Regions from separate parts of the Homo sapiens genome. Here all the other regions are linked to region 6. Evidence: promoter capture Hi-C in 16 types of primary human blood cells and fetal thymus (Javierre and others, 2016). All regions are on one chromosome and are shown on one strand. The core of a region is centred on a gene start or on the middle of the fragment in contact, and the rest is flanking DNA. Distances in the headings are between cores, read along the strand shown. Region 1 overlaps TBCK (TBC1 domain containing kinase). Region 2 holds the start of MCUB (mitochondrial calcium uniporter dominant negative subunit beta). Region 3 overlaps SEC24B (SEC24 homolog B, COPII component). Region 4 holds the start of CASP6 (caspase 6). Region 5 overlaps SEC24B (SEC24 homolog B, COPII component). Region 6 holds the start of HADH (hydroxyacyl-CoA dehydrogenase). Region 7 has its middle 2.1 kb from the start of PLA2G12A.

Region 1 (3,756 bases), core at 350-2,849, 1.7 Mb after region 6:
CATATTTCTTTATCTATATGAAGGAAATGAAGTTCTAATGTTAGGAACTTTAGAAGAATTATCTAACAATATATTTTATGATTGAAAGTAATGATTTTGGCAACTGTCTTCAAATGAAAAGGGAGTCAGTAGATTTTTTTTTTTAAACTCCATTAGTCTTTTTATATAGCAGCCCATTTAGAGAACTGAATTAGAAAAGTTGAACCCTATTGGTTAAAAAGTCAGTGTTTGAGGAAGATGTTTACTGCGTTTTTAGTAGTGTAATCAGGTTCTTTCATTCTCCACTTAAAGATTCTTATGGTGGCAATATTTTTAATTATTTCAGAATTATTTTTGGAAGCTTAATTGCAGGGTAAGGTTGCATTTCTTAAAAATATTTTAAATGCATTTCAGTGAAATGTATTTAATTTTTCTAACATAAAATAATTTGTAGACGTAAAAAAATCTGAAAGTAAACCCTATGTAGTTGGTGATATTCAACTTTTTCCCTATAAAAGTGGCAATTTTATGTGTTTCAACCTAATATTAAAAACCCTGATAAATGCAAACAATGTTTTCTTTACTGTTTTGCTGAAAATAGACTAAACTGTACTTTCAAGTTCCCTGGTTTATTTCTCTTAAAATATTTACTCTGAGAATATTTGTGTTTTATAGACTGAGTAGAAATTTTTTTTGTAATGATAATTATTAATCGTTAAAATTTATTGAGCGTTTATATAAGGCAATATTCTTAGTGTTTTACATATTTTAATTACATATTTTAATTAACTTAATCCTTGTAACATTACTGTGTGAAAGGAACTAGTCCTGTCATTTTACAGATAAGAAAATTAAACCACAGAGCAATTAAGTCAAGGTTCACAATTAATTCATCCAAGGGCACACGAAGGAAATTAAGGAAAAATGGACTGCTAATACATTTTATTATTTTTTGAAAGATTGTACATGTTGCTGTAAGTGTATAATAATGCAAATATTGACAGAATTCTAATCAGAGCTATTCCGTACCATAAATACTGTTGAGCTCTACCACATACCTAGTGCTGTAAATAGTTAGATGTTGTCAGGAGGCTTCGTGAGAGATTTGGGAAAGAGAGTGGTAAAAAAAGTTAATTGTCTAGCAGATGATAAAAAAAAATTTGTTTTTTCATATTGACATATAGGTATATACACACAGACATGTTAAAGTATACATTATTTTATTGAGACTTCTTTTACTGTTCAAGGTTGACTTTGATTGATTGATTCTGCAAATATTAGTAAATGCCTGTCATGTTTGGCTTAATCCCTCAAGCAAGAGCATGGGTGGTGCCATGTTGAGGCCTTAAGGGTCTCTCTCTGTAGGGAACAAATTGGGAAGTCAGAGCTGATAGAAACCTAGCTTTGAAGCAAAAGTAATAAAGGTGCTGATGAGTTGAAGATTTATTTAGGAACCTGTCTTTCTTGTCCACTGCTTTGACAAACATGTACACTGGGGTTATAATACCTTGGTAACCCTTGACTGATACTATGGCCCTCCTTCTGCTAGATGCCAAATATACAAAAATGAGTAACTCATTACCCCAGGTCCCAAGTCAGCTTCAGAAACAGTAGAGAAAAATACAACCATGATAATATTAAATAATACAGTAATAGTTGTTATAATAGGTGATGTACAATGTGCTATGCTATGCTATGGAAGTACAAAGAAGAGAATGTTAATTTTGCGTTGAAGAATATCAAGGCCAAGCATGGTGGCCCATGCCTATAATCCTAGCACTTTGGCATGCTGAGGCAGGAAGATTGCTTGAGGCCAGGAGTTTGAGACCAGCTTGGGCAATGTAATAAGATTCTGTCTCTACCAAAAAAAAAAAAAAAAAAAAAAAAAAAATTAGCCAGGCATGGTGTCTTGTTCCTGTAGTCCTAGCTATTCAGGAGGCTGAGGCAGGAGGATCATTTGTGACAAGGAGTTTGGGGCTGCAGTGAGTTATGATCATGTTACAGGAAAGGGTCCCAATCCAGACCCCCAAGAGAAGGTTCTTGGATCTTGTGCGGCAAGGAATTCAGGGCAAGTCCATAGAGTAAAGTGAAAACAAGTTTGTTAGGAAAGTGAAGGAATAAAAGAAAGGCTACTCCATAGCCAGAGTAGCCCCAAGGGCTGCTGGTTGTCCATTTTTATGGTTATTTTTTGATTATATGCTAAACAATGAGTGGATTATTCATGCGTCCCCTTTTCAGACCGTATAAGGTCACTTCCTGACGTTGCCTTGGAATTTGTAAACTGGTAGGAGTGTAGCAGTGAGGACAACCAGAGGTCATTCTAGTGGCCATTTTGGTTTTGATGGGTTTTAGCTAGCTTCTTCACTGCATCCTGTTTTATCAGCAAGGTCTTTATGACCTGTATCTTGTGCTGACCTCCTATCTCATCCTGTGACTAAGAATGCCTTAACCTCTTAGGAATGCAGCCCAGTAGGTCTCAGCCTCACTTTACCCAGCCCCTATTCAAGATGGAGTTGCTCTGGTTCACACGCCTCTGACAGTCATGCCACTGCACTCCAGCCTGGGTGACAGAGCTAGACCCTGTCTCTAAAGATAAGAAATAATAAAAAATATATATATATTAATCAAACTCATATATAAAAGGTTTTGGTGGGATAAAGGACTTTAGACCACAGAGCAATGGCTCTTCTGTCTGTTATGTTTTATTTGCTTACATTCATTCATTTTGATGATGCTGGTAGTCTCAAAAATTAATGGATTTTCAAAAGATGTTGGCCTTTTATTGTTGACATATTTCTAGGAAACAAAGTCTTAATATCATTATTAATTATTCTTAATTTAAAAAGACATTTATGTCTCTTGATTAATTACAAGCTTACTTTTTTCAAAAATAATTTGAGACAAGATGCAGACATTCATACAGTATTTTATATATAGTACATGAAAGAAAAATAATCAAGGTGAAGATGTAAAAAAGGAAAAAAAACTTTCTCTACTCTCTGATGCTTAATGGTAGGTCCCAGGAATCAAACTGATAAAAGGCTGGTTAACAGGAGAAAAAAACAAACAAACCCAGATTTAATCTATAGGCACAGATTTCACAAAGAAATGCAACTCATGGAGGTAGTTAGAATTGAGGCTTATATACCATCTTCACAAAGGGAAATAAAGTATAGAGAAGAGGGTAGACAAAGGAAGAGGGGTTTGGGATTTGAGAAAGTGACTCAGAAATGCATGGTAAATAAGAATTACTTAGTAAGTTTGTTATGTAGATAAGAGTCATTTTCCTCTTCCTAGTGTAGGAGAGGATAATTTCCAAATGGAATTTATCAAATGGAAATTCCTTTCATCTTTACAGAGGGAGATTTATGTTCTGCTTAGACAGAAATGGAGAGAGAAGAGAGCTAATTGCCTTCACTCAAAATCCTTATGTCAAAGTGGGATATTTTGAGATGGCATATTCTGATTTTCTTCAGGGAGAAAGGAAACAGAATAAGATTTGAGGTTAGTAATATTAATATTTTTTTAGTTGGACTATAAATTTGGTTGTATACTTCTTATAGGCCAGGGCAAAGAAGTAAATCTAACTGCTTCAAATTATTTTTATAATGAGGCAGCTTATTAAGAAATTAATTTCTAGATACTTAAACGTGGAAAAAATATCAATTTAAAGCTTTATAATGTTTGTACAATCTGTTGTCTAGATGAACTATGGAGACTATGGTATAGAAATTTATTTGGTATGAGGATCTGAGATCTCTGATCTGATCTTATGTC
Region 2 (3,514 bases), core at 258-2,757, 1.6 Mb before region 6:
AAAAACAATAATCTGTGTTTAAAATGGCATGTGAAAGGGGTTCCTCGTATTGGGTTGTTTTAATGTTTGGTATCTCTTTGACTACACAATGCAACACTTACAGTAAAAGTACAACCTTTAAAAGTATAAAAAGCCCATCTCCCCAATGACTTTATAAGTCTACCATTTTACATTTTAAGGAGTTTGCCCCTGTTCTTACATTTAGTAACAACATGGCCTTCCTCATTCTCTTTCAAACATTCCTGGAATTGATTTTCTGAATGCACTTAATCCTTTGGTCACAAGCTCAATGAAAAGGAAAAAAAAATGCACTTAAATATTCCCTGCATCAATTGAAACTGAAGCCCTCAGACAGCTGGAGGAAAAGGGGGGGAAGGAAAAAAAAGAACAAAATAAACAGGAAGTGAAAGTGACAAGAGAATCACACTGCTTACTTTTTGGCTTTTAAGCCTTTAACAATCTGAAAGTAATCTTAACAGTGTGGGGGAGGAACAAACGAAAACTCAGAAACAGCTCCCTCCCCAACCACACACACCCTGAAGGCTTTGGCTGTCTTTCCTCATCTGGGTCAGAGTTTGCACTCCCGGGCTCCTGTCAGGCTCCATCGCAATCCTCCTTAAACTCAGCGCTTTCCCCTTCTTCTAGTCTTTTTTGGTGCACATCCACTCTCTACTCCTCCAAGCCACGGTTCTCCACAGACCACAATACAACGGTGTCAGGCCAACTGTTACTCACCAGCACACTCATGATTCACCCGTCTCTCGGGTGTCTGAACAAAACGCGAGTTTTTCTTCCTTCTGGGAAAGGGAGGTGCTCGCAGATTTCAGGATGGAAATTTCACTCTCCTGCGACCGTCCACACCCGGGACGGTCACTGCCCCGTTCATCGTTTCCGGGCTCCTTAGGGGCTCGGGCACTGATCACCAAGAGGGAACCGGCCCCGCGGCGCAGCGGCTTTGGAAACTTGCTCCTGACCGAGAGCTGCAGCCCAGAAACTGCCTCCCAGGTTATTCTGCTGCTCCCAGGCCGAAGTCTGGTGGTCCCCGCACCCTATCTCGGCCCGGGTGAGGCACCCCCAGCCGCAGCGCTCTGGCTTCACCTTCCCCGGGCCCGGAGTCTTGACCTCAGCCCAGGCCTCCGTGACCCACGTCGGCCGCCCGGCCACCACCTGTCGGGACCGCCCGGCGCGCGGAGCCCGGCAGCCAGCAAAACGCAGTTGACTGCTCGGCCGCTCGGCTTTTGCTCCCGCCAAAGTTGTCCAACGCAAACTTTGCACCAGCCTACCCCGAACCCCCACAGCCCGGCACCCGCTCTTACCTGGGGCGGAGGCGGCAGCGGCCACGGGCGCGCTGGGCGCCAGGTGCCAGGGGTCGGCAGCAGCCGCGTGCGCCACGGCCAGAGGCCCCTCTGGAGCATCCTCCCGCCCCAGGCGCGCGGCTCCCGCAGGCGTCAGCGGCGCATCCTCCCTCAGCCGGGCTCCTCGTCAGCGCCTGGTGGCTCCGAGCTGTGGGCGCTCCCGCCCCGCCTGCTCGCTCAGCGCGCCGCGGCTCCAGCTTGGGCGGGCTCACGGGAGGGTGTGTCCCTGTTTCCACTTGTCGGCTCTCTACGCATCCGGGCGCAGGGCTGTTTTCTTTCCTCCGACCAAAAAAAAAAAAAAAAAAGAGAGCGAGAGAGCGGGAGCCCGAGAGCGGGAGCCCGAGGTCGAGGGCCCCCTCCTTCTCCAGCAGAAGACCCTCTGGAATGAACAGCAGCAGGCGACGCACACCTTGCGAGCTCTAGATTTCAAAACTCGCTGTTAATTCCCGGTGCTGCGTGCTCTGAGCGCCGTCTTCGCCATCCAACCCAGACGGGGATGAGACGAAAACAGCGTCCGGCATCTGGAGGGGGCAGGGCCGCTCAGGAAGTTTGTTTTCCCCACCGAGCTTGGAGAAGACGGATTGAAGCGGGTCGGCCGAGGCCTCTCCCACCTCCACAACCTCCAAGGCCTCTGCCCCGGGCTGCGGTGCCGGGCCCCTGCTCGCTGGCGAGTGCGGTGTGAGGCGGGCAGCCCGGGCCTACCCCTGCGGAGGTTTGTAGTTCACGGTATAGGGGCCCAAACCCGAGTTTTTTGGGAAAGTATCTCCCACAGAATTGGCTTCTCTTTTGAAGCACGTTTTTAATTGAAGAAGCTTCGGAACCGGTATTGAGTTCTTCTAACTACTGGGAAATCGGATGCTTTGTTTTGAGACTACTTATTTTTGAAAGCAAACCAAAGGCATTAAAGAGCAACCTAAACCAATTACAGTAGGGTTGTTAGATAAAATATAGGATGCCCAGTTAAACTTGAATTTTAGATACAAATAGTGAAGTATGTCCCAAATATTGCATGGGTCACATTTATTATTTTAAAAATGAAATATCTGGGATATACTAAATTATTTGGTGTTTATCTGAATTCAAATTTAACTGGGCACTCCGCATTTTTATCTCCTGAATCTGCAAGAGGGTTCAGTTAATGAATCAAAATTGGCAAACCTGCAATAAGTGGCAAATCACTCCTGGCGGTAATCTCCTTTCCTTATTGAAAAGGGAAAGAATCACAAGTTTCTACTATAGTAAAAACTTTATCACTATTAAAGGCTGATTCACCTGTGTTAACTAGCATGTCTTTCAAAATACAGTTGCCCCAGATGGAGAGTGACACATGAAACTTTAAGTTCATATGGGAAGGTAAATTACCTTACCTGAATCTTTTCCTCCTATTAGCTAGTGCTCCAAGTGAAAGAAGCGTGTATTTTTGTTTTTTTGTTGTGAAGGGTTCTTGTTTAATACAACTGAAAAGAATGCCTATACAAAGAATTGACATGAAAAAGCATTGATTCAACACTCATGAGCTAGGTTCTGAAAGGTGTAAAAAAATTACCTGAACATTTTTAGAAATTGGAAACTACAACTAAAACTGATAAAAATCCCTATTAACATTTGTGAAGAATCTTGATAATGTGTCCTGAATTGGTGGGTTCTTGGTCTCACTGACTTCAAGAATGAAGCCGCGGACCCTGGTGGTGAGTGTTACAGTTCTTAAAGGTAGCGTGTCCGGAGTTTGTTCTTTCTGATGTTCGGACATGTTTGGAGTTTCTTCCTCCTGGTGGGTTCAGTGGTTTCGCTGGCTTCAGGAGTGAAGCTGCAGACCTTGGCAGTGAGTGTTACAGCTCTTAAGGTGGCGCGTCCGGAGTTGTTCATTCCTCCCAGTGGGTTCGGGTCTCACTGGCCTCAGAAATGAAGCTGCAAACCTTCACGGTGAGTGTTACAGATCATAAAGGCAGTGCAGACCCAAAGAGTGAGCAGCAGCAAGATTTATTGCAAACAACAAAAGAACAAAGCTTCTAGAGCGTGGCACGGGACCCAGACAGGTTGCCACTGCTGGCTCTGGCAGCCTGCTTTTATTCCCCCATCTGGCCCCACCCACATCCTGCTGATTGGTCCATTTTACAGAGCGCTGATTGGTCCGTTTTGACAGGGTGCTGATTGATGTG
Region 3 (4,029 bases), core at 1,187-3,686, 1.5 Mb before region 6:
GCTCTTAGCTCTATCCTATCCCCCAAAGCTTAGTGTAATGGCTGGCTGATGGAAACTATTACTGTATTTTTATAAAATGAAGCCTAGTAAATAATCATCAAGTATTTCTGTATCAGGCACTTATCACAATGTATCAATAAGGAATACTACATGCTACTTAAACACAAAGAACATGAAACTTTAAAAGCTTTCACTATGTAAAATAATTTATACCATAATACAAAAACAGGTCTTTTTTCTGCTTTGGCGTGTTACACTTTTTACCCTGTTCACGTATAAGAAAAGTGTTTTTAACAAAAAGAAATGAAAATCTATCGTATTTCATTATATCTAAGGTGTGTTTTGATACTGCCACTATTTATCTTCACAGGTGTATTAGGTTCCTGCTGCTACTATAACAAAGTACAACAAAGTCAGTGTTTACAACAACACAAATTTATTCTCTTAGAGTTCTGGAGGTCAGAGGTCCAAAATCAGTTTCACTGGGCTACAAAGTGTCAAGGGACAGGGCTGGTTCCCTTTGGACACTCTGAAGAGACAATCCGTTTCCTTGCCTTTTCCAGCTTCTAGTGGCCACTGGTATTCCTTGGCTTGTGGCCCCTTCCATCTCCAAAGCACATCACTCTAACTTCTGCTTCTGTCTTCACATTTCCTTCGCTGCTGGCTCTGACTTGTCCTGTGTCTCTCTAATAAGAACTGCTGTGATTGTATCAGGCCTACCAAGTTCCAGGAAAACCCCATCTCAAGATCCTTAACTTAATCACTGCTGCAAAGGTTTCAGGGATTAGGACATGGACATAGCTGGGGAACCCATTATTCAGCCTACCACATCAGGTATCAATGGCAGATTCTCACACAACTATATTATGATTTCACTTTATGGAAAGCAAGTTTAGAATTCCACTGATTCTAAAATGCACCCCAATTTCAGAGGTAAAAAATGTAAAAAAAAAAAAAAAAAGCATCTTAGAATAAATTAATTTGATTATTGCACTCCCCAAATTGCCCAATACAATGCCTTACATAAGCATCAAATAATCACTGAAAAACTAAAACAGGCTGGGTGCGGTGGCTCACACCTGTGATCCCAGCACTTTGGGAGGCTGAGGCAGGGGGATTGCTTGAGTCCAGGAGTTTGAGACCAGCCCAGGCAACATAGTAAGACTTCATCTCTACAAACATGAAATAAAAAATTACGCAGGTGTGGTGGTTTGTGCCTGTAGTCCCAGTAACTTGGGAGGCTGAGGTGCTAGGCTTGCTTCAGCCCAGGAGATTGAGGCCGCAGTGAGCCAAGATTGCACCACTGCACTCCAGCCTGGGTGACAGAGTGAGACCCTGTCTCAAAAAAATAAATAAAATAAAATAATAAAAATAACAGGCTGGGTGCCGTGGCTCACGCCTGTAATCCCAGCACTTTGGGAGGCTGAGACGGGCGGATCACGAGGTCAGATCGAGACCATCCTGGCTAACACAGTGAAACACCATCTCTACTAAAAATCCAAAAAAAAAAAAAAAAAATTAGCTGGGCGTGGTGGCGGGCGCCTGTTGTCCCAGCTGCTTGGGAGGCTGAGGCAGGAGAATGGTGTGAAGCTGGGAGGCGGAGCTTGCAGTGAGCCGAGATTGCACCACTGCACTCCAGTCTGGGCGACAGAACAAGACTCCGTCTCAAAAAAAAAAAAAAAAAAACAAAGAAAGAAAGAAAAAACTAAAAAAATGGCCAGACGTGCTTGTAATCCCAGCACTTTGGGAGGCTGAGGCAGCAGACTGCTTGAGTCCAGGAGTTCAAGACCAGCCTGGACAACAGAGTGAAACTCCATCTCTACAAAAATTACATAAAATTAGATAGGTGTAGTGGCGCACACCTGTAGTCCCAGCTACTCAAGAGGCTGAGGTGGGAGGATCACCTGACCCCAGGAGATCGAGGTTGCAGTGAGCAGTGATCGCTCCAGCTTGGGTGACAGAGTGAGACCCTGTGTCAAAACAAAAACAAACAAAACAAAAAAATTCAGTTTTTATATAATCTCTGAAAGAATTTTATATTCTTAGCTTCAAGTGAACTATGTCAAATAAAAGAGGGAAACAGATGATTCTGACACATTATCTACTCACTGGTACCAATCTGAATGAAGAAATAAAATATTTTTAACAAATGGTCTATAATATTTTCAATGGAGCTGCTCAGCTGGTCAGCCTGACTGATATATCATGTGCCAGCAAGATACAGCCTATGATTTTCTATAAGCATGTATGCCCTCCTTAGCAGGACTAAATTATCACAAGATCTACCCCCAGGACATATCTGTCTCAGTAGCATAACCTCCTTTCAGACACCAGATTCTCACCAAAGGAAAACTGATTCTCTTGCTTTAAGAAAACCTAACATGAAAATTAAAATTTATAAAACAAATATTTCATGCAAGTCTAGTCCCTGTACCAAAAAAAAAAAAAAAAAAAAATCACAGGATCTCTTTAGGGCATATGAAATACGATTTGGTTTGAAAAATTCTCTACCTGACTTCCCTTTATTCTACTTTCACTTCCCTCTAATTCATTACTAACACCACCAGAGTACTTTTTAACATTCCTTACCACACAATCTTTAATGGCTCTTCTTTGATCCAAATGAAGTCTAAACTTCTTAGGACAATTTCTAGGAACTTCCATTAGCAGCCCCAACATAATTGTAAAAACTATTCTTTTTTTTTTTTTTTTTTGAGATGGAGTTTAGCTCTTGTTGCCCAGGCGATGGCATGATCACGGTTCACTGCAACCTCCACCTCCCGGGTTCCAACAATTCTCCAGCCACAGCCTCCCAAATAGCTGGGATTACATGCACTCGCCACTACACCCAGCTAGTTTTGTATTTTTAGTAGAGATGGGTTTTTACCACGTTGGCCAGGCTGGTCTCGAACTCCTGACCTCAGGTGATCCACCCACCTCAGCCTCCCAAAGTGCTGGGATTACAGGCATGAGCCACCACACCGGGCCCAAACCATTCTTTCATTACTCTCTCTCCCTTGTACCCCTGCACTGCTCAGAGTACGTTTTTTAAATTCCTTACCTTTGATTCATGCATTTTTACCTGACAATTCAAAATGTGTCCATCATTTTAGATATAGCTGAAGTTCTAACTTCCTCCCTTAAGATTCCCTATTACTTTAACCAAAAAGAATTGTTTCCTCTTCAAAACTCTGGGCACCCTTCTCACAGGCCTTATGAAGGAAACACATGTTCAGTGCTGACAGTCCTCTCCTCTTTTACTGAGGGGTACAGAACTCCTGGAGTGCAGAGAACATTCACATTTGTATGCCCAGAGTATCTAGCACAAAATGTTATGTAAAGAGGAGCTACATAAATATTTGCTAGGAATTGTAAATTAAATTTATAGGCCAGGCATGGTGGTTCATGCCTGTAATCCCAGCACTCTGGGAGGCAGAGGTTGGAGGGTCACTTGAGCCTAGGAGTTTGAGACCATCCCAGGCAACACAGTGAGATCTCGTCTCTAAAATAAAAGTTATATATAACTGTTAGGATTACATATGCATTGCATAAAATAAGGTTCAGGTGTTTAAGATCAAAATTGATGGTAAATGAGATAATCGGAGGGACAAAGTTCTTAAAAGAGAGGGAACAGAATTCTGTACCCAAATAATCTGAATTTGTCTCAGATAACACAAGAATAATATGCAGGAAGACTGACAGATTTGGTGGCAGAAGATTAATACTTTATCTTCAGATTGTCAGATTGCTTTCAATTTCTTAGTAAAATAAGTAAGGTCACCATTGGAAAGGGAGGCAGAGAGACAGGATACTGAGAATTTGAGGGAAAAGGGGAGCATGTGACACTGGGAATGGAGCAGGGAAATACCACAGGACTAACTGGTACTGAGAGCTCACTTAAGAGATATTACCATAAATATAAAGTTGGAGAAACTTCAAGGAAAATAAAGCATCAACATTGGATTATTCTAATATTACAATACAGCCATTTTATAGGGAAAAAAACATTTGACATAAAAAGGTTACCAA
Region 4 (3,890 bases), core at 1,068-3,567, 1.7 Mb before region 6:
CCTCAAGCAATCCACCTTGGCCTCCCAAAGTGCTGGGTTTACAGGCATGAGCCACTGTGGCTGATACATGTACTTTTAATTTTTCGTTTTTCTTTTTTTCCCCCTCTAGTCTCTAGTTACATACCGTAAGTGGATATTTTGACCTCCCATGAATCACAAATGTTCTTAATGGCATCTCGAATGATGAATCCTTTCCAGAAGATTTTCAATTTACTTTGCTCAGAACTATCAGAGGAATCATGATGACAGCTATAGCCTTATGAAATGTATTTTGTAAATAAGACTTGAAAGTCAAAATTTCTCCTTGATCCCTGGGCTTCAGAATGGATGTTGTGTTAGCAAGCACGATAACAGCATCAGTCTCTGTACATCTCTATCAGAACTCTTGGATGACCAGGTGTATTGTCAATGAGGAGTAATATTTTGAAAGGAACCTTTCTTCTGAGCACTAGAGCTCAACAGTGGGCTTTAAATATTCTCTAAGCCATGCTGTAAATAGATGTGCTGTCACTAACTAGCCTTTGTTGGTCCATTTATAGATCATATTTAGCATAATTCTTAAGGGCACTAGGATTTTCAGAATGGTAAAGGAATGTTGGCTTTAAAGTCATCAGTTGTATTAGCCCCTAACAAGAGCATCAGCCTGTTCTTTGAAGCTTTGAAGACAGGCATTGACTTCTCTCTAGCTATGAAAGTCTTAGATGGAATCTTCTTCCAATAGAAGGCCGTTTCATATACATTTAAGATCTGTTGTTTTGGCTGGGCACGGTGGCTCACACCTGTAATCCCAGCACTTTGGGAGACCGAGGCGGGCAGATTGCTCAAGGTCAGGAGTTCAAGACCAGCCTGGCCAAACATGGTGAAACTCTGTCTCTACTAAAAATACAAAATTAACCTGGACATGGTGGCACATCCTGTAATCCCAGTTACTTGGGAGGCTGAGGCAGAAGAATCGTTTGAACCCAGGAGGCAGAGGTTGCAAAAGATCGCACCACTGTACTCCAGCCTTGGTGACAAAGCAAGACTGTCTCAAAAACAAAAGATTGTTGTTTAGTGTAGCTGCCTTTATCAATGATTTTAGCTAGATCTGGATAACCTGATGCAGCTTCTACGTTAGCACCTGCTGCTTCACCTTGCACTTTTATGTCATGAAGATAGTTTCTTTCCTTAAACCTCAGGAACCATCCTCTCTGCTAGCTTCCAGCTTTTCTTTTGCAATTCCCTCACCTCTCTCAGCCTCCATAGAATTGAAGAGTTAGGGCCTTGCTCTGGATTAGGCTTTGGCTTAAGGGAATGTTGTGGCTGTTTTTATCTTCTATCCAGACCAACTAGAACTTTCTCCATATCAGCAATAAGGCTGTTTAGCTTTATTGTCTTTTGTGTGTTTACTGGAGTAGCATTTTTAATTTCCTTCAAAATTTTTTCCTTTGCATTCATGACTTGGCTTTTCTCCTTTGCACTCACAACTTGGCTAACTGGAGCAAGAAGCCTAGCTTTCTGCCTACCAACATTACTTCCTCACTAACTTAATCATGTTTGCTTTTGATTTAAAGTGACAGGCTCTTCCTTTCATTTGGACACTTAGAGGCCTTTGTAGGATTATTAGTTGGCCTAATTTCAAAATTGTGTTTCCAGGAATAGGGAGGCCCCAGGAGGGGGAGAGAGAAGGGAAAGTTCGGTGGAACAGTCCAAACACATACAGGGCTTATGGATTAATTTCCCCTTCCTTTATGAGCGCGGTTCATGGTGCCCCAAAACAATTGCAATAATATTAAAGATTACTGATCACAGATCACAACAGCAGACATAATAACAATGAAAAATTTTGAAATATTGCGAGAGTACCAAAATGTGACACAGAGACACAAAGCGAGCCAATGTTGAAATACAGGCAGTATCTGCTAAGCGGTATAAAACAATCTATGCCTGTACCTCTAGAAAGTACAGGCATAGCAAAGTAAGGAATAGCAAATGTTTGGGGCAGCTGGGATTAAATGAGTCCGAGCTCACACAAGTGATGTGAAATTGCCTCGGGCTAGGCGGTCTGTGTGTCCCCCCGGGTGGCAACTGGCATGTCCCCAGGGCACGGTTAGTCCCAGCGGGCCTGGAGGCGAAGACCGCGTACCTCTCCCTGCCCCCGCGCTCTTGGTCCCCGCGGGCTCCGGAGCGACTGGGAGGAGCTTTAACTCTGGGAAGGACCAGCCCGATCCACGGGAGCCCGGGCGGCGCGCAATCAGAACCAACTGGCCCCACGCTCGGGGGCAGGGGGCGGGGCCGCCGAGGAAGGGCCGAGGGCGGGGCCGGGCCCGGGAGCCTGTGGCTTCAGGAAGAGGAGGGCAAGGTGTCTGGCTGCGCGTTTGGCTGCAATGAGCTCGGCCTCGGGGCTCCGCAGGGGGCACCCGGCAGGTAGGCAGGGGGCGTCGACTGGGCACCGAGCAGGTCTGCGTCTTGCTCCGGCTGGAGGGGAAACGAGGGTTAGTGGACCGGGCGCGCGGACCGGAGTGGGGCCGCGGGTTCCTTCGGCTTTGCAGGGCGGCCTGGAGAAGTTGCACTCTTGGATTGAAGCGCTCAGGGCGGGTGGGGACGGTTTCGCGCTTCAGTCTAAGAAACACTCGGGGACCTGGCTGCCGCCTCCTGGCGGTCCCGAGTAGCGACGCCGGCGCCGGGGCGTGCCCCTGCCGCCTTTGTCCTCCGGGGCGATGAGCGCTTTCGGGGCGCCCCGGCTGTTTAAACCTTAAAAGGCTGTCCCCACGCGGGCCTGGCGTTCCCCCACACCTGGCCGTTTGAAATGTTGGGGGTTGGATCTTTTGTTTGCTCACTTCGAAAAGTGAAAAGGAGGGGTTGTTCCGCCGAGTCATAATGAAAACATAACAGGCCCGCGGGGTGCCCGGGCCAAGACCCTGGGTCCTCCCGGGCTTCAGCTGGAGGCGGCCAGTTCCTGGCGGCCAGCACACCCCGGTATCTCTCTTCTTCATCCAGGAAACCTGCTGCTGTCTGTCGGTTTGAGCCAAAACCACAATAACTTTTTTCTGCAAAGTAATCAACTGCTAAGAGCGTACGTTCTGTCACTTATTACTGGTAAAGTTTAGAAACTTCAAGCCTGGCCAGAGTGAAACAAACAAAAAGGTCGAAACGCCTGCAGTTGGCCGGCCGTGGTGGCTCACGCCTTGTAATCCCAACACTTTGGGAGGCCGAGGCGGGCGGATCACCAGAGGTCGGGAGTTCTCGACCAGCCTAACTAACACGGTGAAACCCCGTCTCTACTAAAAATACAAAAAAATTAGCCAGGCCTGGGCGCAAGCTACTGGGGAGGCTGAGACAAGAGAATCGTTTGAACCCTGGAGGTGGAGGTTGCAGTGAGCCGAGATCGCCCCACTGCACTCCAACCTCGGCGACAGAGTGAGACTTCGAATCAAGAAGAAAAAAAAAAAAAAAGAACGAAACGCCTGCAGTTGGTTAGAGTGCCTTTGTTTAAGAACTCTTTATATTTTGCTGCACAAAGGAAATGGTGCTCCAGAGGCAAGCTGTAAAAGTCACATGGTCGTAGAGGAGGTAGATAGGTAGCCTTGTCCTGGAGGCACAGTGCAGGGTCCAGTTGCAGTCTCTAGGGGCGGGAAGCCGGGGCTTTCCTTCACTCACCTGCTCCCTTCCTCTTCTTCCTCCACCGCACTCCCCAGTGCATGTTCTAGGCCTGATGGAGGTTACTCTACATAGGGTTACTAAATACATTGTTGATGGAGCCGATGGGTAGATTTTCATAGAGAGTGCAGTGAATGAAGACGATGACAGTAGAATGACCGAAGTCGTTTGGGAAGTTGAACAAAGTTTAGAAAGGTAGCCGGTCTCGGGTGGGAGGGGCTGCGTGGGGATGGGCCTACAGAGACTTTGGA
Region 5 (3,879 bases), core at 406-2,905, 1.5 Mb before region 6:
ATAATAAATCATAAAGAAGGTAGGGCTTGAGAGTAAAAGTGATCAAGATAAAGTTTATTACAGTTAATACAGAAACAAACATGAAAATGGTAGTTAGGTGGGCATATGCCAAATTAGACACAAAAGAACACAAAAATTACAAAAATAAAGATGAGCCAGGCGCCAAAAATTTAATGCACATCGCTTACTCCTTTTCACTAGCAGCAGTTTAAGTTTTGCGGACAACAAGGATTAGAGTTGTAGCTACAGAAGATATAGTTTTTTGAGTTTGTTTGTTTGTTTTTGAGACGGAGTCTTCCCCTGTTGCCCAGGCTGGTGTGCCATGGCACAATCTTGGCTCACTGCAACCTCCCCCTCCCACGTTCAAGCAATTCTCGGCCTCAGCCTCCCTAGCAGCTGGGATTACAGGCGTGCACCACCACGCCCAGCTAATTTTTGTATTTTAAGTAGAGACAGGGTTTCACCATGTTGGCCAGGCTGGTCTTAAATTCTTGACCTCAGGTGATCCACCCACCTCAGCCTCCGCAAGTGCTGGGATTACAGACGTGAGCCACCACACCCAGCCAATACAGTTTTTATAAATATGTTAAAAAGAGAAGATATGATAACGAAGATGAGCAAACCTTAGGGCCAGTAATTCGTTTTTGAAGTGAAAAGAAGAATGAGATCTTACAGTTCATATAATTAAAGAAGAGACAGAATTTTCTAATTGCAACAGAAGAAAAAATTAGAAGTCCATATCCACTTATCTTGGTATCTTGGTGAAAAAACTTAAGTTTTGGGCAAAAATGTGCATTTCTCTGTTTTGAGAGTCTTAAATGTTAAATGGTAAAAGGGTATCTATATCCATTCCATGCAAGGAAATCAAAATGGCAACAAGTCATAGATGCTAGTGCCCATCATAAGACAGAACTAACATTTCTTATTCATAGAAAGCCTTCTAGGAGATCGAATAACCTTTAGAAAGATTTTCTCTTTGTTAAATATAAACTTCCAGCATTAATTTGTTTTTAAAAATTATGAGTATAAACAACTTCAAAATCTCGATAAGAGTTCACTTAACAGAAAATTACAAATGACCAATGTAATTGTGTTCCATAACAAATCTTAACACTGAATAGTTACCATGTAATCTGAAGAAGCAATGAACTCCACAGTTGAATTCTGAACTTCTGGTCGTTTATGAGGCTCTCCATAAGATCGGGTAAGGGGGTTATACATAAATTCTTCAGGAACTAGATAAGAGGTCCCAGTACAAATTTAGAGACACAATTTGTAACTAAACACATATATACACACCTAAAAATAAATATCTATTATCAATATTTACACGAGGTTTAGCAACAGTTCTGCGAACATTTAATGGTAAAAATCAATCCCTTAAGCCCTCCTTAAAAAATAGATCAGGGCGGTGGCTCACGCCTGCAATCCCAGCACTTTGGGCGGCCGCGGCGGGCGGATCACGAGGTCAGGAGTTTGAGAACAGCCTGACCAACATGGTGAAACCTCGTCTCTACTAAAAAAACAAAAATTAGCCAGGCATAGTGGTGTGCGCCTGTAATCCCAGCTACTCAGGAGGCTGAGGCAGGAGAATTGCTTGAACCTGGGAGGCAGAGGTTGCAGTGAGCTGAGATTACACCACTGCACTCCAGCCTAGGCGACAGAGTGAGACTCTGTCTCCGAAAAAAAAAAAAAATAATAATCAGGGGGCCAGGCGCAGTGGCTCACACCTATAATCCCAGCATTTTGGGAGGCTGAGGCGGGGAAGATCACGAGGTCAGGAGTTCGAGACCAGCCTGGCCAATATGGTAAAACCCCATCTCTACTAAAAATACAAAAATTAGCCAGACATGGTGGCAGACACCTGTAGTCCCAGCTACTCGGGAGGCTGAGGCAGAAGAATTGCTTGAACCCGGGAGGTGGAGGTTGCAGTGAGCTGAGATCGCACCACTGCACTCCAACCTGGGTGACAGAGTGAGACTCCATCTCCAAAAAAAAAAAAAAAAAAAAGATCAGGCTTAGGTGCAGTGGCTCATGTCTGTAATCCCAGCTCTTGGGTTGGGAGGCTGAGGTGGATGGATCATTTGAGCCCAGGAGTTCAGGATTAGCCTGGCCAACATAGCGAGACCCCATTTCTACCAAAAATACAAAAATTAGCCAGGTGTGGTGGTGCAAGCCTGTAGTCTCAGCTACTTGGGAGGCTGAGGCATGAGAAAAACTTATAGCTTGAACCTGGAAAGCAGAGATTGCAGTGAGCCATATTGTGCAACTGCACTCCAGCCTGGGTGACAGAGCGAGACCCTGTCTCAAAAAAAAAATTAAAAAAAAAAAATAGATCAGAAGGATAAAAAAACTTATGTTCTGAAATCAGGTGAGAAAACCAGGATGCAAGTAACCTTCCTTCTTAGACTTGTATCCTATTTATTATATCAAATGACATGGAAAAAAATCAGACAGAGAAACATAAATTTGAAAGCAACTCTAGTAGGGGAACCCGAAGAAATGAATAAAGGGAACAAGAGACAGACATATATACATGCATGCATCCAGATACACTGGCAAAGTTCTACCTGAGTTGAATGAACCAAATATACAAATGTAAGACAATCTTACTGTCAGGGACAAGCATAACTAGTCTGCATAAGCTCACCTGCATGAGTGTCACTGTTTCTATTTTTCTTACTTTGTCCTCACTGTTACTCTCCTCATTGTCAATTATCCCCTTGGTCAGCCAAAATGAAGAATCCCTAGTCCTAGCCTTAGCCTATATTCCCTCTACTAAAAATGGCATGAAAATTCTTTTTAAAGCAATGAAGAGAGAAACCAGGAGATGACAAAAATCTCAAAAAAAAAAACCTGAAAATAGGATTAAAACACAATTAAGAATCTAAAACTCACCATCGTTTACTCTATAGCACAAATTGCATTTCCATCTACGTTGATCAATGAAGGATACAAAGGGGTTAATATACGTTCGACAGGATCGGCACCTCACAATGGTATTTGATGTTATCACTGGTAATTGCTAGGAAATAAAATAAAGAAGCTGTAGCAGAAAAAGGCACCCCAAGGAAAAACAGAACGTACACAGATCTGCTCCAAATACAGAACATAAACCTTAATTGTTTTTATGTGGTTTTATATGGAAGCATATTAATAAAATCCAGGGACATGTTGAGCAACACATGTAGCCATCAAGTTTTCTCCCTCTTGTCACAAATCATAACACTAAAATAAAGTCATAACAAACATTGGCCAAGAAAATAATGTAAGTGAGATCTTATCAGTTTAACTTTAGAAATAACAGTGAGAGAGAAACATACCATATACAAATACCTTTGTCTTTGTTGACTGCACGTGGTACTAGACTATTAGGCACTGCTCATTAGACTGCCACAGCAACTTCTGACAGGAGCTGAGGCCAGAAGCAGTCAAACACAACGTGCCTTTAAAAAAAATTACATCTCTATGCTTAGTTTGGGAAATGAATTTTATATTCAAGTAGAAACTTTAGAAAATATGAAAAAAGATTAAGAGATCACATATTATTCTATGTCTCTGAATTAACCTGCTATCATTTTAGTATATCATTCTGTTTTTTTCTATCTGCACATGAACATTTTGATCTTTGTATTTAATTTTTTCACATATATGATTATTATTATGCAAGTAACCACATATCTGTTGTAAAAAAAAATCAGGAAATATAGTTAACTGAGAATGAGAAAATAAAAAATTACAGAACTCTATATCACAGAAGATGTCACTGTAAACAATTTAGTATACATGCTTCCAGAAGGTATCATGTATATCTGTATTTAGAGAAAAACTCTCTCATATATATACATATATATAGTATACAATTTCATATATATATGA
Region 6 (3,582 bases), core at 39-2,538:
AATAATTTTTAAAAAAAAAAAGTACAAGCATTACAGTAGCCAGGTAATCAATCACTCGCACAACTGAGCCTGAACCACAGCTCAGCAGAACAATGGAAAAGCCCTGAAGATGTACAATGGATAAAAGACTTGTTCCGGCTGGGTGCAGTGGCTAACGCCTGTAATCCCAGCACTTCGGGAGGCCAGGCGGGCGGATCACCTTTGGTCAGGAGTTCGAGATCAGCCTGACCCACAAGGTGAAACCCTGTCTCTACTAAAAATATAAAATTAGCCGGGCGGGGCGCCTGTAATCCCAGCTACTCGGGAGGCTGAGGCAGGAGAATCGCTTGAACCCGGGAGGCGGAGGTTGCAGTGAACCGAGATCGCGCCATTGCACTCCACTCCAGCCTGGGTCAAAGAGACTCCGACTCAAAAAAAAAAAAAAAAAAAAAAAGAGAGAGACTTATTCCGCTGCAGCGCCAAAATCGCAAGCTCAGAACTCTGCACAGACGGCACTATTTCAAAGGTCAAAACCAGGACCTCAGCAATCTTCCATTAGGTGACTTTACAAAGTGCTACAAAAGTCATGACTACTACTATTCTTTACAACCTAGCAAGCGAAGGAAAGACCGGGGAGAGCCGGGAGGCCGTTTAGGAGAGAAAACTACTTTGACAAAGACTGCACAATTACAGAATAAAAATCAAAAATAACTGATAGAATTAAAACTGATCGCAGTTCATGTCTTTGGCAGCAAACTCCCGTTTGAGCCGAGCAGGAACAAACGCGTTATGCCTGAACCTTGTGCACATACAATTCTTTCTTCTCTTGCACGGCCCGCTTCCAAAATGCATTCACCGCCACTCTCCATGGAACCTTCAGCGGGCCCTGGGGGCAGCCAGAATTTTCCAAACGAGGAAGCTGAGGATCGGCCCAGAACCCTGAATTTTGAGGGGAGTGAGACTTGGGCCCTCACAGGCCCAGACGCGAGATATTTCAACTACACCCGGGAGGCGCGGGGTGAAAACTCCCTGGTGTCGGGCGGGTGCAGGCCCCTCGCGGCCGGTCGCGCCAGAGCTTCCACCTCAGGGTGGGCGGCCAAGCGCGTGGGCACGCTGCAGGGAGGGCCGCTCACCTGGGCAATGCCGGCGCCCATCAGCCCGCCGCCGATGACCGTCACGTGCTTGACGATTATCTTCTTGGCCGAGGCCGAGGCGGTGGACGAGGAGGACACGGAACGCATGAACTGCCTGGTGACGAAGGCCATGGTGTGGCAGCGGCGGCGACAGCGAGGAGACCCGGGCAGGGAAGACGCGCGAGGCGGGCAGCCGCGGAAAGCCAGACTCTGGGGGCGGGGACCTACGCGGCCCTGCAGCCCGCGCGCCCCCGGCGTCCCCGTGACGCCACAAGGCGGGGGCGGGGCCTCGAGTCCCGCTCTGCCCATTGGCCCTGGCTGTAACGTCCCAGCGTTGAGCGGGTATACACGCGCGGGCTCGCAGCTGTCAGCAGCCGGAGCCCGAGTGAGCGCGGGCTTGAGACCTGCTGAGCAGCGGGACCTGGCGGCTGGCGTTCTGGTGTGGGGCCGAGAACAGACCCTTCTTCTGAAAAGCCACTGGCCCCTTGTTCTATGAAGTGAGTGGTGTTGACTCTGTAAAATGCTATCCTTTGATGACATGTGCATATCTAGGCTCTGAAGAAATATGTGCTGCTTGGCTGTGTTGGTAATGGACCCAAAATGTGCACCGTTGGTTGATGTCACCAAATAATCAACTCGGGATTATTTTAATCCCGTGGACAGTGATTGTTTCCCCTAAAAGGGAAATAAATGTAGACTGCGAACACCCAAAACAAATGTCTAGTGACCATGAGTTACAATGCAAAAATCAGGCTCAGGGAAGGTAAAGAGAGAGTTGACCTTTAGTTACCCATCTTGACGTTGGACGTCTATCAGTGCAGTGAACATGTGGACGGTTTAAGGTCATAGAGCAACCTTTCTGGAATAACGAATACTATTAGAAAGCATAGGAAAGAAATGTCTTGTCAAATAATGGAAGACTGGATAGCAGCTTGGCCAATCTTCTCACTCAGGTGAATACTTTCTAATTACTGTAACTTAGTGATATAGGATTCTTATTAATTTATTTGCTTTATGTTTAAATATTGTTAACAAAAAAACTTCAAACAAGTTTAGCAGAGTTTATCTGAGCAAAGAAAGCATGAATCATGTAGTATCCTGAGCCAGTAAAGGTTCAGAGAGCTCCAGCCCCTAACAGTGGGCAAGCCGCGTTTATAGACAATATTTTTTGCAGCCTGTAATGGGCTAAAAGCTCCGCTGCGGTGATTGGCCAAGACTTGGCCACTTGTTAGAAGAACGTACTCTCAAATTACATTGCAGTTTATTTACATATTAGGTTTGATTATGCTTTGCTAGGTAGGGAGGCAACTTTAGGCCAGATTTAATTTAATAACAGTTTCCTCCTTTGGGTCAGCCTCTCAGTTTTACGAGATTGACCAGAACCTTGTTTTGTCTCAGTATGGAAGTCACAATGTCAAATTAGTTGAGTGATTATACTTTCTTCATGTTGTTATTCTAACTGTAATAACACCATTTGGTGTACAAAGGATGGCTGCATAGAGACATTGAAGACTCTCGAGGGGACAACAACACATCAGGGAGACTATTATGGCCACGAGAAGGAGTATAGCAATAAACTGAGGTACACACCTTAACAGGAGTCTCCACAAACTGAACTGATCAAAATTAAACAATTCAAAGTTCAGGCAATAAAGATAGTTCAAAGTATTTGAGTCCAATTGGTCATGGTCTAATTTAGGGCATTATGGCGGTTAAGGACTGCTAGAAATGCTTATTTCTTGGTGCCGTAAAGAAATAGCACTTGAACATAAAATTAATTTCTTTAGCAAGGCCATTTTTACTTTCTGCGGAAAGAGTACACTCGCCAGCAGTTTTGCCACAAGAGTACACCGAACAAAGGAGGCAGGGTCATTTATAACCTGACCCGTCCACCTTACTGTTGTGACTGGTTTCCATTGGCTAGAACGGGACTTCACATTCTGTATTTGTCTTGATTGGCTAGCAACTTAGAAATTCTTAAAAGAGGCAAAGGCAGAGGAGAACAAAGGAAGGAGGAAGTAACTTGTGGAATGCTGAGAAGGGAAAAACACCTCTAAATAAGGAAGAGGAACAGGCTATGACCTAATGCCCACTTGGACCAGTATAAGCATGCCAGGGCAAATATTTAGGCTAAATTGTGGGAGCTAAGAACATAAAGTACATTGATTTCTTTATTACAGCTAGCAGATATTTAAGAATGTTAACAGGTCTTTGAATAAATTTTGCTTCTAAGAGAGGTTACTATTTATTCCTAATCAGATGAGGAGGAAAGTCTTTGAAAAGGAACCTCTACTTTACTTTTTACAAGGACCATAGTTCACTGAATGACCTGATTCAGCCTTATGGCCTGATTTAAAGAGGTATCCATTTTTGTAATTAGCCTGGTAACACAAGTTATAATAACCTGGAGAGCCACTAAAGAAGCATAAAGATTAGAAAAGTTTGGAATAGCCTAGCTTGCCTTTCACTA
Region 7 (3,741 bases), core at 666-3,165, 1.7 Mb before region 6:
TACCACCATGCCTGGCTAATTTTTGTATTTTTTTTATAGAGATAAGGTTTTGCTATGTTACCCAGGCTGCTCTTGAACTCCTGGACTCAGGCGATCTGCCAGCCTTGATCTCCCTAGGTGCTGGGACTACAAGCATGAGTCACTGCGCCCAGCTAAGCCCCATGACTTTAAAAGCCATTTCTATTCTGACAACTTCCCAATGCGTTTCTAACCTTTATGCTGAACTGCAGACTCAGAATAAGCTTCTTGGATATGGTATGACTGAAATTTATTTTTAAAATTTTCCCGCAAAACCCTCTCCTTCCACAATTCTCCCCATTTCTGACAGTTAGAACTCTCTCTATCCTGTGGCTTAGGCCAAAATTTCAATGCCATCCTTGATTCCTCTTTTTCTCTCATATTCAGTCCATCAGCAAATCCCTTCTGCTCTACCATCAAGTTACATCTAGAATATGACCACTTTTCACACCTCCACTGCTCCTTTCCTGGACCAAGCCATACTTATGCCATACCTAGATTACTGTATCATAACTGACTTCCTATCTTCAGCTTCTGCCCACCACAAAGTATATATAGACAAGCTAGCCACTCTCTAGCAGGAAAGACCTGGAACACAGCTGTGGATTTGCAACTAATGATGTCTGTCATGAAAATAACAGGTTTTGCTGGTTAGATGAAAGTGTCCTGTAAAGAAGGCTCTTTTCAAACAGTTTATGCCAAAATTTGGGAAGAAAAGATGGAAGTGGGTCATCTAGAAGTTACGTGAGATGAGCTGGGCACAGTGGCTCATGTTGTAATCCCAGCACTTTGGGAGGCCAAGGCAGGGGAATGACTTGAGGTCAGGAGTTCGAGACCAGCCTGGCCAACTTGGTGAAACCCCATTGCTACTAAAAATACAAAAAATTAGTCAGGTGTGGTGGCGGGCACCTGTAATCCCAGCTACTCGGGAGGCTGAGGCAGGAAAATAGCTTGAACCTGGGAGGCGGAGGTTGCAGTGAGCTGAGATTGTGCCACTGTACTCCAGCCTGGGCAACAGAGCCAGACTCAAAAAAAAAAAATTTATATGATATGGTAAATCAGAGCATGCATCCTGTGTAGTGGCACAAGGCCCCACAGTCAAAAGGGCTCTGTACTTATTTTAATGCTCTGCTGTTATCACCTTGAAATTCTTTTTTTTTTTTTTTTGAGACAGAGTCTTGCTCTGTGGCCTCGGCTGGAGTGCAGTGGCACGATCTTGGCTCATTGCAAGCTCTGCCTCCCGGGTTCACGCCATTCACCTGCCTCAGCCTCCCGAGTAGCTGGGACTACAGGTGCCCGCCACCATGCCCAGCTAACTTTTTGTATTTTTAGTAGAGACAGGGTTTCACCGTGTTAGCCAGGATGGTCTCGATCTCCTGACCTCGTGATCTGCCCATCTCAGCCTCCCAAAGTGCTGGGATTACAGGCGTGAGCCACCGCACCCGGCCATCACCTTGAAATTCTTAATTTTTGAGCAAGGGGCTCTGTATTTTTATTTTGCACTGAGCCCTACAAATTATACAGATAGTCTGTGGTCAGTGCAGATCCCTGGTATTTAACAGCATCAATTAAGAGGAAAACGTAAACCTTGTAATTACTGCAGCAGAACAACAAATATATAATGATTAAATGTGAAAAGAATGTGAAAATAAAACTTAGAGTCTTGTTTTCTACAAAAATGGTGGTGATTCTCATGGGGAAGACAGTGGAAAGATTTGCTTGAGAGAAAGAGAACAGCTGCATCAAGCCAGAAGAACTGGCATTTGAGAATTTAATCCCTAAGGAGAGATCAGACAAAGAAAACTACGTCTGATTCCTCAGAGTATAGGCTGTAGTTAAGGTGTAAGAAATTAGATGAGATCACAAAGAAGTAAATAAATAGAGAAAGTGGGGGAAAGGAGAGGCTTTGGGTCATAACTGAGGGCTGGAACTAGGTTATTTTATTACATTCTATCCTTTCTTTTGAAAGTCTTGTCCCTGGACTAGGGAGTTGTAAGAACCAAGCCTGGTTTAAGGATTCAGGTGGTGGTATCTCAGAGGTAATCTAGTCCAACTTTCATACTTTGGAGCTGAGAAACCAATGTTCCAGAAAGCTAAGACAATGATTCTAAGTTCCCTTTTTAAAATGTATTGAAATGTGTTGTCTAAAAATTAAAAAATAAAAATATCTGTGGTATTTTGTGAAGACAGAGGCCTTGGTTTGGAGTAGATACTGTCACATGACTTCTCACCTCGACTCTTTTATTGTAAAAGAGGAAGATAATAATACCTTCCAGGGAACATTCTTCCCCCTTCTCCATTGTGGTAGGAATTAATCACTGCCCAAGACTCCTGGTTGAGGGGCTGAGTGAAGTGCAGGCAGTCTCCAGCCAGGAGCTACACCGTTTGTTGGGCTACCCTGTTTGTAGGGAGGAATGCCTTTCTATGTTTCTAACTTGCCCAAAGTCTGCATCCTTGTAAAGTAGTGTTCTGAATGTGAGCGATCATATTCATGAAGTGCCTGGCACATAGTAAGCACTCAATAAAGAGGGATGTAATTTTTATGAACTGTGCACTGAACGTTTATTATAAGCTCATTTAGTTTGTAACAAACACAAAAGGCCAAACCTAGAACTTATTGGTAATTCTTATAGAAAGGACACACCTATGCCCAATACTTACTCACTTTCTTTTTTTTTTAGAGTCTCGCTCTGTGCCCCAAGCTGGAGTGCAGTGGTGCAATCTCAGCTCACTGCAACATCCATCCACCTCCTGGGTTCAAGTGATTCTCCTGCCTCCGCCTCCCGAGTAGCTGGGATTACAGGTGCCCGCCACCACGCCCAGCTAATTTTCTGTATTTTTGGTAGAGATGGGGTTTCACCATGTCAGCCAGGCTGGTCTCGAACTTCTGACCTCAGGAGTTCCAGGCCTCCCAAGGTGCTGGGATTACAGGCGTAAACCACCGCGCTTGGTCTGCCCAATACTTTCAACATTGCTCTGGATCTTACTGTAAAATTCTTGGAAACTGCTGTGATACTAAGATAACCAGATATTTACAACTGATACAAAGTACTACTGCAATAGTTATTTATGGATCCCGCACAATGCTGGGGGCAGGGTGGTAGGTACAGAGAAACAAACGTCACTGTAACTATCAAGTTACAAAATCCCTTGAGTAGAAAAACAATGACTTCCTTAAGATTTATTTTACTTTTTACTGTATTTAAGTTTACACTACTGTTTCTTCCTTACCAGGGGAGAATTTTATGATTTTTATGTTGGCCCATTTTCTTTTTCCGGAAAGTCTAAACTAGCATTTAGCTCGTCCTGATTAGAGTCAGGCACCGCCAAGGCATGGGTTGGCATCTTCCAGATCCCGCTCCCCCAACCGCGGCCACAGCAGATCTGGAGGACCGGGAGAGGACGCAAGGAGGAAAAGCCCTGCTCTGCGAGCTGACAGCCGGACTCTGCCCACATTGCCAATGGAACCACGTCTTCAAGCCGGAAACTCAGCTGGACCTCTCGCAGCGCTCTCTGCGAGGGGGCACAGGGGTTATTTTCTCCGATGTTGTCCACACCCAGAAAAGCTTGTCTCTCGGGGCTACTGTGCTGAGCCCCGACTGGTCAGGTTAGGCCACCGGGGTTAGCTCTGCAACTCTTGCTTCACGGTTAACAGCCCGGAGAGCTTTCTTAAAAAATACCGACGCCCACTGCCACCTGGGACAACGTAATCAGGCTCCCTAG

Evidence for each region. The method cuts DNA at HindIII sites, captures the fragments that hold promoters and counts their contacts. A CHiCAGO score of 5 or more calls a contact.
Region 1: a fragment that was not itself captured here is called in contact with the fragment with the promoter of HADH in region 6 in 1 of 17 cell types (total B cells); the score reaches 6.9 in total B cells.
Region 2: a contact is called between the fragment with the promoter of MCUB here and the fragment with the promoter of HADH in region 6, in 6 of 17 cell types (activated CD4 T cells, naive CD4 T cells, non-activated CD4 T cells and 3 more). The highest score is 11.4, in activated CD4 T cells.
Region 3: a fragment that was not itself captured here is called in contact with the fragment with the promoter of HADH in region 6 in 1 of 17 cell types (total B cells); the score reaches 6.4 in total B cells.
Region 4: a contact is called between the fragment with the promoter of CASP6 here and the fragment with the promoter of HADH in region 6, in 5 of 17 cell types (activated CD4 T cells, total CD4 T cells, fetal thymus and 2 more). The highest score is 10.8, in activated CD4 T cells.
Region 5: a contact is called between a fragment that was not itself captured here and the fragment with the promoter of HADH in region 6, in 1 of 17 cell types (naive CD8 T cells). The highest score is 6.4, in naive CD8 T cells.
Region 7: a contact is called between a fragment that was not itself captured here and the fragment with the promoter of HADH in region 6, in 2 of 17 cell types (non-activated CD4 T cells and naive CD4 T cells). The highest score is 5.5, in non-activated CD4 T cells.

What each region holds. Positions count from the first base shown.
Region 1 is chr4:106,304,351-106,308,106 of GRCh38, reverse strand. The region is part of intron 2 of TBCK (TBC1 domain containing kinase); the gene reads left to right. Among named protein-coding and RNA genes, the nearest start is that of TBCK, 10 kb to the left of the region's middle. The HindIII fragment of the contact is 2,513 bases long and covers 343-2,855 here.
Region 2 is chr4:109,558,239-109,561,752 of GRCh38, reverse strand. MCUB (mitochondrial calcium uniporter dominant negative subunit beta) reads right to left here and starts at 1,507. Exons shown (of 8, transcript NM_017918.5): 1 at 1,317-1,507. The coding sequence starts at 1,415. RefSeq lists an enhancer at 621-820 and a silencer at 1,241-1,560. The HindIII fragment of the contact is 4,460 bases long and covers 1-2,169 here.
Region 3 is chr4:109,442,900-109,446,928 of GRCh38, reverse strand. All of the region lies in intron 1 of SEC24B (SEC24 homolog B, COPII component), which reads right to left. Among named protein-coding and RNA genes, the nearest start is that of SEC24B-AS1, 11 kb to the right of the region's middle. The HindIII fragment of the contact is 4,493 bases long and covers 190-4,029 here.
Region 4 is chr4:109,701,872-109,705,761 of GRCh38, reverse strand. It overlaps CASP6 (caspase 6), which reads left to right and starts at 2,317. Exons shown (of 7, transcript NM_001226.4): 1 at 2,317-2,406. The coding sequence starts at 2,367. RefSeq lists enhancers at 1,896-1,945, 2,836-2,895, 3,656-3,715 and silencers at 2,106-2,395, 2,546-2,655. The HindIII fragment of the contact is 4,197 bases long and covers 659-3,890 here.
Region 5 is chr4:109,511,103-109,514,981 of GRCh38, reverse strand. SEC24B (SEC24 homolog B, COPII component) reads right to left here. Exons shown (of 24, transcript NM_006323.5): 9 at 2,899-3,025; 10 at 1,126-1,235. Among named protein-coding and RNA genes, the nearest start is that of MIR576, 24 kb to the right of the region's middle. The HindIII fragment of the contact is 4,764 bases long and covers 1-3,879 here.
Region 6 is chr4:107,987,595-107,991,176 of GRCh38, reverse strand. It overlaps HADH (hydroxyacyl-CoA dehydrogenase), which reads right to left and starts at 1,288. Exons shown (of 8, transcript NM_005327.7): 1 at 1,113-1,288. The coding sequence starts at 1,244. RefSeq lists a silencer at 1,292-1,521. The HindIII fragment of the contact is 11,946 bases long and covers 1-3,582 here.
Region 7 is chr4:109,730,301-109,734,041 of GRCh38, reverse strand. It overlaps a transcript of CFI not described here. Among named protein-coding and RNA genes, the nearest start is that of PLA2G12A, 2.1 kb to the right of the region's middle. RefSeq lists an enhancer at 2,978-3,741. The HindIII fragment of the contact is 3,342 bases long and covers 245-3,586 here.